Regions from separate parts of the Homo sapiens genome. Here region 2 is linked to region 1. The links are contacts of gene promoters, found by promoter capture Hi-C in blood cells and fetal thymus (Javierre and others, 2016). All regions are on one chromosome and are shown on one strand. Each heading gives the region's core, a stretch centred on a gene start or on the middle of the fragment in contact. The rest is flanking DNA. Distances are from core to core; before and after follow the strand shown.

The links. The method cuts DNA at HindIII sites, captures the fragments that hold promoters and counts their contacts. A CHiCAGO score of 5 or more calls a contact.
Region 2: a fragment that was not itself captured here is called in contact with the fragment with the promoter of TGFBR2 in region 1 in 4 of 17 cell types (total B cells, non-activated CD4 T cells, monocytes and 1 more); the score reaches 10.2 in total B cells.

The regions. Positions count from the first base shown.
Region 1 is chr3:30,602,721-30,608,908 of GRCh38, forward strand. TGFBR2 (transforming growth factor beta receptor 2) reads left to right here and starts at 3,881. Exons shown (of 7, transcript NM_003242.6): 1 at 3,881-4,257. The coding sequence starts at 4,164. LOC105377015 (translation initiation factor IF-2-like) reads right to left here and starts at 4,204. Exons shown (of 2, transcript XM_047449400.1): 1 at 3,426-4,204; 2 at 1,679-2,838. The coding sequence starts at 4,204. The coding sequence ends at 3,764. RefSeq lists a silencer at 3,955-4,054. The HindIII fragment of the contact is 4,009 bases long and covers 1,947-5,955 here.
Region 2 is chr3:31,229,998-31,236,185 of GRCh38, forward strand. No RefSeq gene overlaps it. Among named protein-coding and RNA genes, the nearest start is that of MIR466, 71 kb to the left of the region's middle. The HindIII fragment of the contact is 7,716 bases long and covers 1-5,108 here.

The DNA of each region.
Region 1 (6,188 bases), core at 2,631-5,130:
GGGCTTTACAATCATTAGGGTAGAATTCTAAAAAGCAAATAAATAACAATAATGTACTCCATGTTAGAATGGGGCAAACATTTTTTTTTAAAAAAAGGCTAAATAAACGAAATGTTCCCTGGGTTATCCCTGGGAAAGGAGTGATCACAGTAGGTGAAGCATCACAAAATATTTCCTGGAGGAGGTAGCATCATGGATGACCCACAAAGGGTGGATGACCCTCACAAATTAACTACAGTCTCAGTGCTTATTGGTTTGCTTCACAATAAAAGGAAAATTGGTCAAGAGATAAGAGCTGAGAATGAGGCTGGTTAATTTATAAGGAGAGGAATCTCCCTGTTAACTGCTCTAGCTGACAGTAACCTCAACAGCTGCATGTCACAAAGCTCAGGGGAGTAGGAAGTTCTTCTCTCATCACAACTGAGAAACCCAACGTTTAAATAAACCACAATTTGATTCAGTTCAATTGTGTGTGTTTGTGTGTGCGTGCAGAGTTTAAAAAGCTGGTAAAATAGATTGTCAGCTTTTAAAATTTCTGTTCAAGTTGATATTTATTGTTTTTCAACTCATTAAGGGCTTAAACGTTACCTTCCTTGTTTTTTAAACCCTGAGTCGGGCTATTATTTTTTTGTTCCCATTTGCAAATGGCCCAGTTTTTTACATGTATATATTAACTGCTTATGTGAATACACAAAATATTATACTAAGCCAAATATACAACTATGTGTGAAAATGATGTCTTGATTAAGGGTATCAGACATCCCTTTCAACAAGAATTTCAAAAGGAAGGGCATCATGACAATTTTTTTTTCTTTTTCTTTTATTTATTTTTTGTTTTTGAGACAGGGTCTCATTCTGTCTTCTAGGCTGAAGTGCAGTGGCACAATCATGGCTCACTGCAGCGTTCGTCTCCTGGGCTCAAGTGATTCTCCCACCTCAGCCTCCTGAGTAGTTGGCACTATAGATACATGCCAACATGCCTGGCTTTTTTTTTTTTTTTTTTTTTTTTAGTAAAGATGAAATCTCACTATGTTGCTTAGGCTGGTCTCGAACTCCTGGGCTCAAGTAATCCTCCCATCTAGACCTCCCAAAGTGCTGGGATTACAGGTGTGGACCACTGCACTCAGCCTGATGAATTTTTAAAATTATCAAATTGCAATATGCATGAGTTTACACATCTATTATTTTTATTATGATGATTTTCAAAAGGCTAGCTTGCACTTGGCAATGCTGAATTCTGATTCTTCTCAATTTCACAGGAGACTGGAGATTAAATCAGAAATGTTAAGGGCAAACAAAATTAAAATCAACATTAATGATGTATCATGGCAAAGACCACCAGTTAAACATTCCACCATAGATTTAAATATCTAGCCTCCAACAATGTAAAACATCTTTGTGATAATTAAGGAAAACAAAGCTTTTGGAATCTATTGGACATTTATTTGCCACATTGTGTTTTCAGGAGAAAGAAAGTACATGTTTGCTATCTGGAGGAACTTGGGCAAATGTAGGAAAAAAAAAAGAAGAAGAAAGAAACCCACATACTTCTCCATTCTTAAGAAAAGGAAGTAGTGGTGACATCATTCTCGGCTAAAATGTAGTCTGTTTATATCTCAAATATTCGGTAACAATGTTTTCTCCAGAGTTATGAAGCAACTAGAACAATCAAATACAATTTTCTTCTAAATCTTTATTGCCTGATTCATTCATTCATCCAACAAATATTTATTAAACATCGATTATGTGTTTGATGCTTAGGGACACAATAGTAAGTGGAGGGAAAGATACATAATACCTGCCCTCAAGAAATTTGGAGTTGAGTGGAGGATAGAAATATAAATTAAAGAATGACACAAATAATTATAAAGTTACAGCTGTTAAAAGAAAAGCATATGGTGCCAAGAGAACGTGTAATACAAGATCTACTCATGGAGGTGAGGGAAAGCTTGCCCATCAAAGAAGTTATGATTCAATCCACGAAGACCAGGAGTTGGCTGGGTGAAGAAAAAAAGGTCAGAGGAAGGAAGTCCACACTGGGGAAGGCTCTAAGCATAAAGGGTAGGAGGATTACAGAGGCATATTCACGAAATTTGGAGAAGGCTTTCAGTAAGCAAGGAGAAGCCAAATGAAAGTTTACGGGAGAGTTGGAGGCTTGAAGACACGTTCAAGGATCTGGTTTTTATCTTCTCTTTATCTCAAGAGCAGTGGGAAGCCATTAAATGATTTTAATCAGAGGGTTGGTATAACTAGTTTTGTATTTTGAAAAGCTGAATTCAGCTCTCGTTTGAGAAACTGAGTGAAAGAGCCCAGAACGGCCGTGGCTGAGGGTGACTCGTGGGAGACTCCTACACAAGCCATGGCAGTGGCATGGGCTGGTGGCAGAAGAGGGAATAGGGAGAAGATTTGGAACTCAATCTTCCTCCATTGACAAAGTCACTCCAGCTTTGGCAAGGCAATTAATTGGTGGGAAAGAAGATGCCTAGCCCTCCTGATTTCACTGCACTTTCTGCATCTTCAACATGAGTACTGGGAAGTGGCAAAACATCCAGAGGCAGCTTGGGTGCTAGGTGGAGCATGAGTTAAAATTCCAGGATGAAGCAAATGAACACTTAGAATGACAGGAAAGATTTGGGAGTTGGGTTTGGGGGAGGGCTATTTACCTTTATTCCCTGGAGACCCTGGCACAAACCCTTGCCTCTGCAATCTTCCTCTCAGGTAAAGGAATTCATTAAATGAATTGCTAGAAGATCTACTGACCAGAGGGCTGTACAGAATCATATCTTTGAGAGTGGGAAGTAGGTTGATCACATAGTTTATTATCCAATCAGGACATATCTGAAAGAGAAAGGGGGTTCTATTAATATTTAAACTACAAAACATGTACACCAGGAATGTCTTGGGCAAATCTGGTTGCCCTAGCAAGAAAGGAAATTTGAAAGTTTATACTGTTCTGCTCCCATGTTACCCCGTTTGCACATGAGAGGGTAAGTATTCTCTTTCTTCACCTGCATTAAGGGAATAAAAGCACAAGCATTCAGGTGACTCCCAACCCACTTTTAATTTTACAGTTTCTGCTATACTCTATACATTCTGAAAATTACATTTCCCACCACTATCACTTCGTGATAGGTGATCATTTACAATTACTCACTGACTCAGTCCCGGGAAGAGGCGGTGCAAAATGGGACGCTCTATCCAGGTGCTCATTAGAAATGCAGAATCTCTGCCTGCCTCCTAGACCTACTGAATTAGAATCTGCATTTTTAAATAAGATTTCCAGGTGATCAATATGTACATTAAAACTTGAGAAAAACCTCTAGACTTCGACCTAAAGAAAAACATTTTACAACTTGACAGTGTATGCACATACATACATGCATATAGACACAACTGAAGCACAAATTTAATGAAGTAGAATTTACCGTTACTATTTTATTTGGGAAAGAAATGTGCTCGCGACTCAATAGATTGGAGTATTCACTCCTGGATCTCAACTTGCAATTTGAAAACGCATCTCTAAAGCACCTAGGAGCAATCTGAAGAAAGCTGAGGGGAGGCGGCAGATGTTCTGATCTACTAGGGAAAACGTGGACGTTTTCTGTTGTTACTTTGTGAACTGTGTGCACTTAGTCATTCTTGAGTAAATACTTGGAGCGAGGAACTCCTGAGTGGTGTGGGAGGGCGGTGAGGGGCAGCTGAAAGTCGGCCAAAGCTCTCGGAGGGGCTGGTCTAGGAAACATGATTGGCAGCTACGAGAGAGCTAGGGGCTGGACGTCGAGGAGAGGGAGAAGGCTCTCGGGCGGAGAGAGGTCCTGCCCAGCTGTTGGCGAGGAGTTTCCTGTTTCCCCCGCAGCGCTGAGTTGAAGTTGAGTGAGTCACTCGCGCGCACGGAGCGACGACACCCCCGCGCGTGCACCCGCTCGGGACAGGAGCCGGACTCCTGTGCAGCTTCCCTCGGCCGCCGGGGGCCTCCCCGCGCCTCGCCGGCCTCCAGGCCCCCTCCTGGCTGGCGAGCGGGCGCCACATCTGGCCCGCACATCTGCGCTGCCGGCCCGGCGCGGGGTCCGGAGAGGGCGCGGCGCGGAGGCGCAGCCAGGGGTCCGGGAAGGCGCCGTCCGCTGCGCTGGGGGCTCGGTCTATGACGAGCAGCGGGGTCTGCCATGGGTCGGGGGCTGCTCAGGGGCCTGTGGCCGCTGCACATCGTCCTGTGGACGCGTATCGCCAGCACGATCCCACCGCACGTTCAGAAGTCGGGTGAGTGGTCCCCAGCCCGGGCTCGGCGGGGCGCCGGGGGTCTTCCTGGGGTCCCCGCCTCTCCGCTGCGCTTGACAGTCGGGCCCGGCAACCCGGCCCCCGGGCGGAAACGAGGAAAGTTTCCCCCGCGACACTCACGCAGCCCGACTCCCGTAGCTGCAGGGATTGTGAGTTTTTCTTGAAAAAGAGAAGGAAAGTTCAGTTGCAAGGGGCGCGGGGCACGTTTGGTCCCCTTTGTGCGAGCAGGAAAGGCGTTGTGTTGGCCGCGTTCGAGGCGAGCCCCCACCCCCGGAAAGGGAAGTTTGAGAAGTTGGTTATCTGAAGGCGGCCGGGGAGCAGCGGCCCGGAGCGGCAGCCTGAGCTGCCAAAGCAGCCAGCGCACCTGGGCCACTCCGCCCATGGCGATGCCGCGTGCCCACCCAGCTCTTTCTGAGCCACCCGTTCAAAAGGCCAGCTCCTCAGTCCTTAGCTCCTGGAGACGGCCACGCTTTCCCTCAGGCCGGCTTCTTGGCCCGGAGTTTTTGGAAACAAGTTTCAAGAAAATAATCGATTTCCAAAAGAAAGTTAGCTGGCTCCACTGACGCCTTGGCATGGATGGATAGGGAGTGGAGATGCTCAGGTGAAACCGAGAATCCCTCACTGAATGCCTACTGGGTGCTAGAGGCTGTAGATTTTGCCTGGAACAAGATAGTCCTGTCTTCAGGGAGTTGATGGTTCTATGCAATTATCGTTTGTTGGAAACCGAAGGGTTAAAATCCTAACTAGGCTACCCACCTGATCGCTGTCTCTGAAGGTTTTTAAGGAAAAAATAAAAATAAAAAAATATATATATATATTATATATATATAAATATATATATAATTATATATATAAATATATATAATATTAATATATATATGCATGCAGGAATGGGGGTTCTTAACTATTTGTTATGGAAAGTGTAAAACCTCTGAGACTTCAAAAGTTAGATTTTTTTTTTTTGGAGACGGAGTCTCGCTCTGTCACCAGGCTGGAGTGCAGTGGCGCAATCTCGGCTCACTGCAACTTTGCCTCTGGGTTCAAGCGATTCTCCTGCCTTAGCCTCCCGAGTAGCTGGGATTACAGGCGCGTGCCACCACGCCCAGCTAATTTTTGTATTTTTAGTAGAGACGGGGTTTCACCATATTGGCCAGGGTGGTCTCGATCTCTTGACCTCGTGATCCGCCCACCTTGGCCTCCCAAAGTGCTGGGATTACAGGCGTGAGCCACCGCGCCCGGCCAAAAGTTAGACTTTTTGCAGCTATGATCCAAATAACAGTATCTGCAGCTGTGGTCTGGGTAACCGAGTATTTGGGCAAGTCATAGAGCTTTTTCTGGGCCTTAGTTTCCTCATCTGTAAAATGGCCAGCTTGAATCTGGGTAATTTTACATCATCTTCATGTTTAACATCTTACGTATCGTGCCCCTCCCCTCCTTTCCCCTGGCTCTTCTGGTGACTTGGAGATGACCCATGTAGACTTTGGATGAAATGTAGAGGAGTTGACAGTCCACATCACCCGGAGGCACTCATTTTATTTATCCAGGGACATGGGCAGATTTACCTTTAGGTTTGTCTAGAAAAAATGCGCATCACGGTCAGTTGTAAATTTTAGAGTGTTTGAAGTGGATTGGGAACTTTTTAAAAATTATGGCATACATTGAAGGTGGCATGGAGATGGAAGCTTTTAATCAAATTAGGAAGAGGCACTATTGCAAGCAAAAAGTCTTGACACACATTTGAGTCCTATGGTTTTAATAAAATCTTAGTGTTTCGTTCTTGGCGTTTTTCCTGCATTGCAGTACCAGAATGTTCAATTGTCTCTCATTTTCCTCCAGACTTTTAAAACCTAAGTGACATTTTGCTAATAAATATTTAAAATGGCACCCTTAATTTTCTGTGGATGTTAAAAATC
Region 2 (6,188 bases), core at 1-2,500, 620 kb after region 1:
GTTAATGAGTACAAAAAAAACATAGAATGAATAAGACCTAGTATTTAATAGCACAACAGGCTGACTATATTTGACAATAATTTAATTGTACATTTTAAAATAACTAAAATAGTATAATTGGATTGTTATAACACAAAGGATAAATGCTGAGGAGATAGATACCCCAATATCCATGATGTGATTATTAAGCATTGCACGCCTATATCAAAAGAACTCATGTACTCCATAAATACATACACCTGCTATATACTCACAAAAAATTAAAAATAAATTTAAGAAAATTATTAATAGTTTCAAGACAGTAACAGAAGAGCAAGAACCCAAGCACTGAGCCCTTCTAAGTGTAGGACCTCACACCCATGAAGCCAGCTTTGATGGTGCATGCCCCATACTTTGTATATTACAGAGAAGGCAAGCATCCAAGGGAATGAGTACATGTGAACACCCTGTAGGAAACTTGAAGGGAAGTATGGAGGGCCATCAATGCTACCTGAGGCAGGAAACAAAGCCAAAGTATGGGACTAATAATTCTACGTCATACTGATGAGAAGAACCACAAGACAGTCAGGTCAGATACAATAATGAGGCATGTGGCTGGAACTATTGCCTGGAACTGTTTGTGATTTCGTTTTAGAAAACCAGTTTCCTGTTTTTTAAATAGTCAAAGTTAGAGTTGAAGAAGATGAAGGAGATAGTAATGTCATGACCTGATATATCTGGCAGCATCCTAGCAAGAAACATCCAGGGTGCTTAAAGATATAGCTGCAGAAAGTTTACTAAAGGGACAATACACAGAAAAGTGTAGGCAGGGTTACAAGCACCAAAAGGGACAATCACACAGAAGCACTAACAACAGCAGGAAGCTGTTACCAGCCCTAGACCTGAAGGGGCAAGGGGAGGCAGTGGTTATTGGAACTTAGAAAGGACTGAACTCCTGGGAGAGGGCAGGCTCACAGGAGCCAAGACCTTAGGGGAAGAAATGCAGTCACTGCCAAACCACAGCCCAGTAGGGAAGGGGCAGGAATAATAAATGCATCAACTTATTTATCTTCCCAGGACCTCCCATTGACAGAACCCAACCCAGAACAGGAGGGCAATAGATCCTGGATGACGCAGCCCAGAAGTCAGCCTCCTGGGGCACAGAGCAGGGAGGACAAGGAGGGAGATGGGCCTGGAGGGCACCTGGAAATTAATCAGCACATCTGGTGACATGTATCTGTGGAGGTGCTGGGGAGTGTGTGAGACTATTGGGGGTGAGGGTCAGGGGGCAGCGGTGGGGTCAGTGGGGGGTGGGGGGGAGGCGGGGCGGTATTTAAGAGAGTAGCTGATTGCACCCAGATTTTGGACTAGGCAAACTGGGTGAAAAATGACTCCATTCACTGAGCTGGGGAATTCAGAAGAGGAACATCTGGGGGAGGAGTTTTGGCTGTGCCATGTTTGGAGGCATAAAGGACATCCAGGGAACAGAGTAATCAGGACTGGCACTATAGAACTGGAGGTCATGGATCTGTAAGAGGCAGTTGAAGTCAGTGGGAAGACCAAGGACAAAGATCCAGCAACACCAACATGCAAAAGGAAATTGGGGGGAAACTAAGGAGTGGCCAGATGGGTAAGAAGAAACTGAAAAGAGTTGTTGGAGGGAGGGGGGGCAGGGTGGAAATATTCAGCCAAGATAATTTCCAGAGGGAGTGAGCCTTAAGTCATTGTACAAGAAGCCATTAAGTGGAATCCTGCATTGCATAGGTGTCTGGATAAGATGACCCCTTAGCCACGTCCCATCCCTGTGTTTCCACTATGATCAGAGATGAAGTAGAGCAGCAGTTCTCAGCTACCCCCTACCAAAGTTCCCAGTCTGCCCCAAAGACGGAAGGCAATGCCTCAAACACCACAATCCCCAACTTGGAGAAACCACCTCTGGCTTCCAACCCTCCTTGCCACCAATCTCTCAGTTTCTTCTGAAGCCAGCACAGAGGGATTAGCTGAGAAGGTTTGTGTTGAGGGGAATGGAGGCCCAAGAGAAAATAGGAGGAAATGAATCTCCCTTGGAATCCTTGAGGCAAATCAGGGCTAACACTCCAGCCACAAGCTGCAGTAAGTTTGGCCTGCTGGTCAGCTATGCAGGACAGATAGCAAAGAAGCCAACTCCTCTTGTCAGCCCCGAGCAGATGCCGAAGTTCTTCTGCAGACCCAGCTCTCTGCTACCTGCCAGTCCACGCTGCTGTCCCTCTCCACCCTTGTACTACCCTCTTCAGCCACACAACCAAATTCTGTGATTTCCTCTCTCCAGGGCATGTTTGCCCTCATCTGACTTGATGTTGAGGGTGTAGTCCCATGAGAAACTAAAGGGAAATAAGGTTAGAGAGAGCTTCCTCTGACCCTCCGCCCTCACCCCACCCCTCACGGCCAGGACAGCCCCATGCCCAGGTGTCACACAGAGGCCCCCCTCCAGCTCCCCTGCATGCCCTCGGTCTCTTTTTCAGGGAAAGCCATGGTTGAGCTGACAATCCTGCCTCTGAAAAGCCTTAAGTGCTTCCTAGAAGATGCATCTGACTTTCACCAACACTAGTGGCTAGCACTTCCGCTTCCACAACCCTGTTGCCTCTCCAGGAAAAGCCTCTTTAACCAAGACCGCCTTAAGCCACTAGCCGAATGAGGCCAGTTCCTCTCAGCTACTTCTCATTTGCCTTCTGCCTGCCCTGTCAATGGCATTTGCCAGTGCTCAGTTAATGTTTCTGGAACTCTGGAACTACAGTTTTCTTATTCACTGAGGTAGCCAAACTAGAGTGCTTCCCAAAAGCGCTTCTTCTGACTCTCTACTAAAACTGTCTTTAATCGTCTTGCCTGAAAGTCATGGTACAATACCAGATGCTTCAGGGAGAAATGACTCATAACCCCTTCCCTTAAGAAGCTCATAGTCTTGGGGGAGAGACAGGGAAGTGCGCAGTAACTCCATTAGAAGTTATATGAGGAAGTATGAAAAGATTACAGAGGAGGAAGCCATTAAATCCAACTAGAAACTGTTATTTCAATAACAGCTACATTTAATACTGAAATCCTGCTATTATGCACCAGACTATGTATTAGCTAACTCTTACACCCCATGATGTAGCCAGTCTTATTAGCCTCGTTGTATACATAAGGGAGACAAAGAAAGGAAACTTACCAAAGGCTACAGGACACCAAGTAAATGACACTGGATGCAGACAAACCCCTCCCACTCCAAAACCTGTGTTTATTACCATAGTAGACAGTAACTGGACCAACACTGGCATTTACTGAACACTAGACACTGCCCCATGCATTTAACACACATAAAATTTGGCCAGGTGCGGTGGCTCACGCCTGTAGTCCCAGCACTTTGGGAGGCCAAGGCGGGCGGATCACGAGGTCAGGAGATCGAGACCATCCTGGCTAACATGGGGAAACCCGTCTCTACTAAAAATACAAAAAATTAGCCGGGCTTGGTGGCGGGTGCCTGTAGTCCCAGCTGCTCCGGAGGCTGAGGCAGGAGAATGGCCTGAACCCGAGAGGCGGAGCTTGCAGTGAGCCGAGATCGCGCCACTGCACTCCAACCTGAGAGACAGAGCGAGACTCCATCTCAACAACAACAACAACAAAAATACACAGTGAAGAAGGTATTACTTCAATTCTCCTTTTGCAAATAAGACACTGAGGTTCAGAGAAGTTATGTAACTTGTTCAAGATCTCACAGAAGCCAGAATTCAAATGCAGACCATAATTACCACACAATTTGGCCACCCTGTTTAGAAGACATAACGTGTGAATGACACCATAAAGGCTGTTAGAAAAGAAATATGTTTTCTTAGTTTGAGTTCCTCCCAATAGCATGACCTGAGACAAGAATCTAGATGCAGGTAGGTTATTTCTAAGGTGATCCCAAGGAGCAAAGAATGGGGTACAGCAACAGAAAAAAAAAAAGACAAAATAAAGGTTTATTGTGGGGGTTGCCACTGTGCTCTCACAAGGAGAGGTGAAAGAGCATTTCCCCAGAGTTCTTCTGCCCCCTCTCCAATGATGTATGGGTCTTCTGAGCTCCCTCAGGCATCCCTGGTATCAGGGAATCCCTGGGACAGAAAGCAGAAATATAAGATATGTGCTGGAAGCCAGACACTCTGGGCAGGAAGCACAAAGCTGGGCTCTGAACTGTGCACCCCAGCCACAGCTAAAGTCAGAGGTGATGTGGCAAGCATAAGAGTCTAGCTCCCAGCTGTACCTGCCTCACAAGGGGGCAATGCAGTGGGAGGGGACACTTCACACGCAGCAGGCGGCAGGACTAGGGCAGGAGCGTGAGAGCCATGCATGTTCTACCATGCACTTATGAAACGTTCCATTGCTCCTCTACTGTATCCCCAGCAACCTCCACCGCACTGGGTTTACAACTCTCCTCTTGAAATTATAGAAATAAACTCTCGGTCAGTGCAGTAAGCTGAAGTGAAGCAACCCTTGATTCCAGAGGCCAGAGGCAGCTTCCCCTTTCTTCTATCCAACCATGAAAAAGCAGTCCTCTGCCTTGTGCAGTGGTATTGCTGGCTCTCAGTCACTAGTATTTTCTGAGGCTAGCAGTATAGAATTGCAGTTGAATGCTTGAACTCTGTGTGTCCTTGGGCAAGTTATTAACCTCTCTGAACCTCAGTTTGTTTCATCTCTAAAGAAAGACACAGATACTTACCTAGTAGAGTTGGGTGAGGATTAGATGATATTCTGGCTGTGATGCATTTAGCACAGTACGTGGGGTATAGTGAGCATTTAATCAAGAATTGTTGTGCATATTTTAACATTTCTGAGTCAATTCACTTCAGCATCAAAGGGGAGAACTAGAGGCAGTTACTTATCATTTAAAGAAAGAGGATAATATAATGCAGACAGTGCTAGACTTGCTGGGTGAAAGATTTCATTTTCCAGCTTTAGGATCTTAGGGCCAGTAATCTCTCTGAATTTGGGTTTTTCTATCATAAGTGGAGATAACCATTTTTTTCTACCTCAAAACATTGTTGAGGCTCAATGGTGATCACAAATGTAAAATGCTTGTAAACCCTAATGTGATATAAAAATGTTATTATTGTGATTATCATAATGATAAGAATCAAAGCTTCACTCTCCCCAGCACAAGTATATACTCGCTCTGTGAGACTGACTGCTCCTCAGTTGCTGGAACAAGAGCAAGGCATTTTCACCCTAAGGTCACTGCCATTGGAGGGAGTGTGTGATTAATATCAGAGACACTCTGTAACAGCTGCTCAGGGTGAGCCACTCATACCATCAGTGTCAAGGGCTGGGCTGCTAATTTATTTATGTATGAAGATGACAACCAGGGAAAGCAATTAGGACTTGGGCATCTGTTGTGATCCTCTCTCGCTGGACCTGTGGCAGTGGGGCACCACAAAAACCTTAACAACAGTTGCTAACTGCTAAGTACCATCCTTCTGCATTGGCTCAGGATCACTGACTCTTTATTTGCCAAACAAGTCATATTTGTGCTCCAATCCCTTGTCTGTTCCCTTCCTTGAGCCAACCCAAATTACAGGACAAGTGGCAGGAGTGCCGAAGGGAAATGGGCTTGGAGGCAAAGATGTGTGTTGGGTGATGGGGGCTGGGAGATTCTAAAGTATTTTCAGAGTTCTTTACTGCTATCAATTAAATGAATCCCTGCAACAGCCCTGGAAAGTAGGTCAATATTATTATAGCTGCATCATGGATGAGAAAACAGGCTTAAGAAGAATGGGTTGCCCAAGGCTCAGCCACCCATCAGAGGAGCTGAAGCAGAATTAGATGGACAAATTCCTGACACTGAATCCTTGGCCAAGTGTCTGCTTACTTAGCATGCAGCAGGTGATCAATAAATGGTAGACTCCTTACTGACTTGACTCACTGAGTCTTAAAATGATGTATTAATCCCCTCCTGGGCACAGTGGCAGATTCTAGACCCAATTCAGATCCTAAAGCCAGAGGAGCTTTTAAACACAGGTCCTAAAACCCGCATAATTCAAGAAGTATCTTTGGAGGCACCCCAACTGAAAGAGAGTTGAAGAGGTAGCTTGGTCTTCATAGAGCACGTTGCTTGGGCTGCCCAAAATCTGAAAACGGTTCTTACCAGAAGGCAGAGAAGTTGGCAGGGGTTCCCTTCCCTTTCCCCCACCTTTATAACCCTATGGAAGCCAAATTTGGTT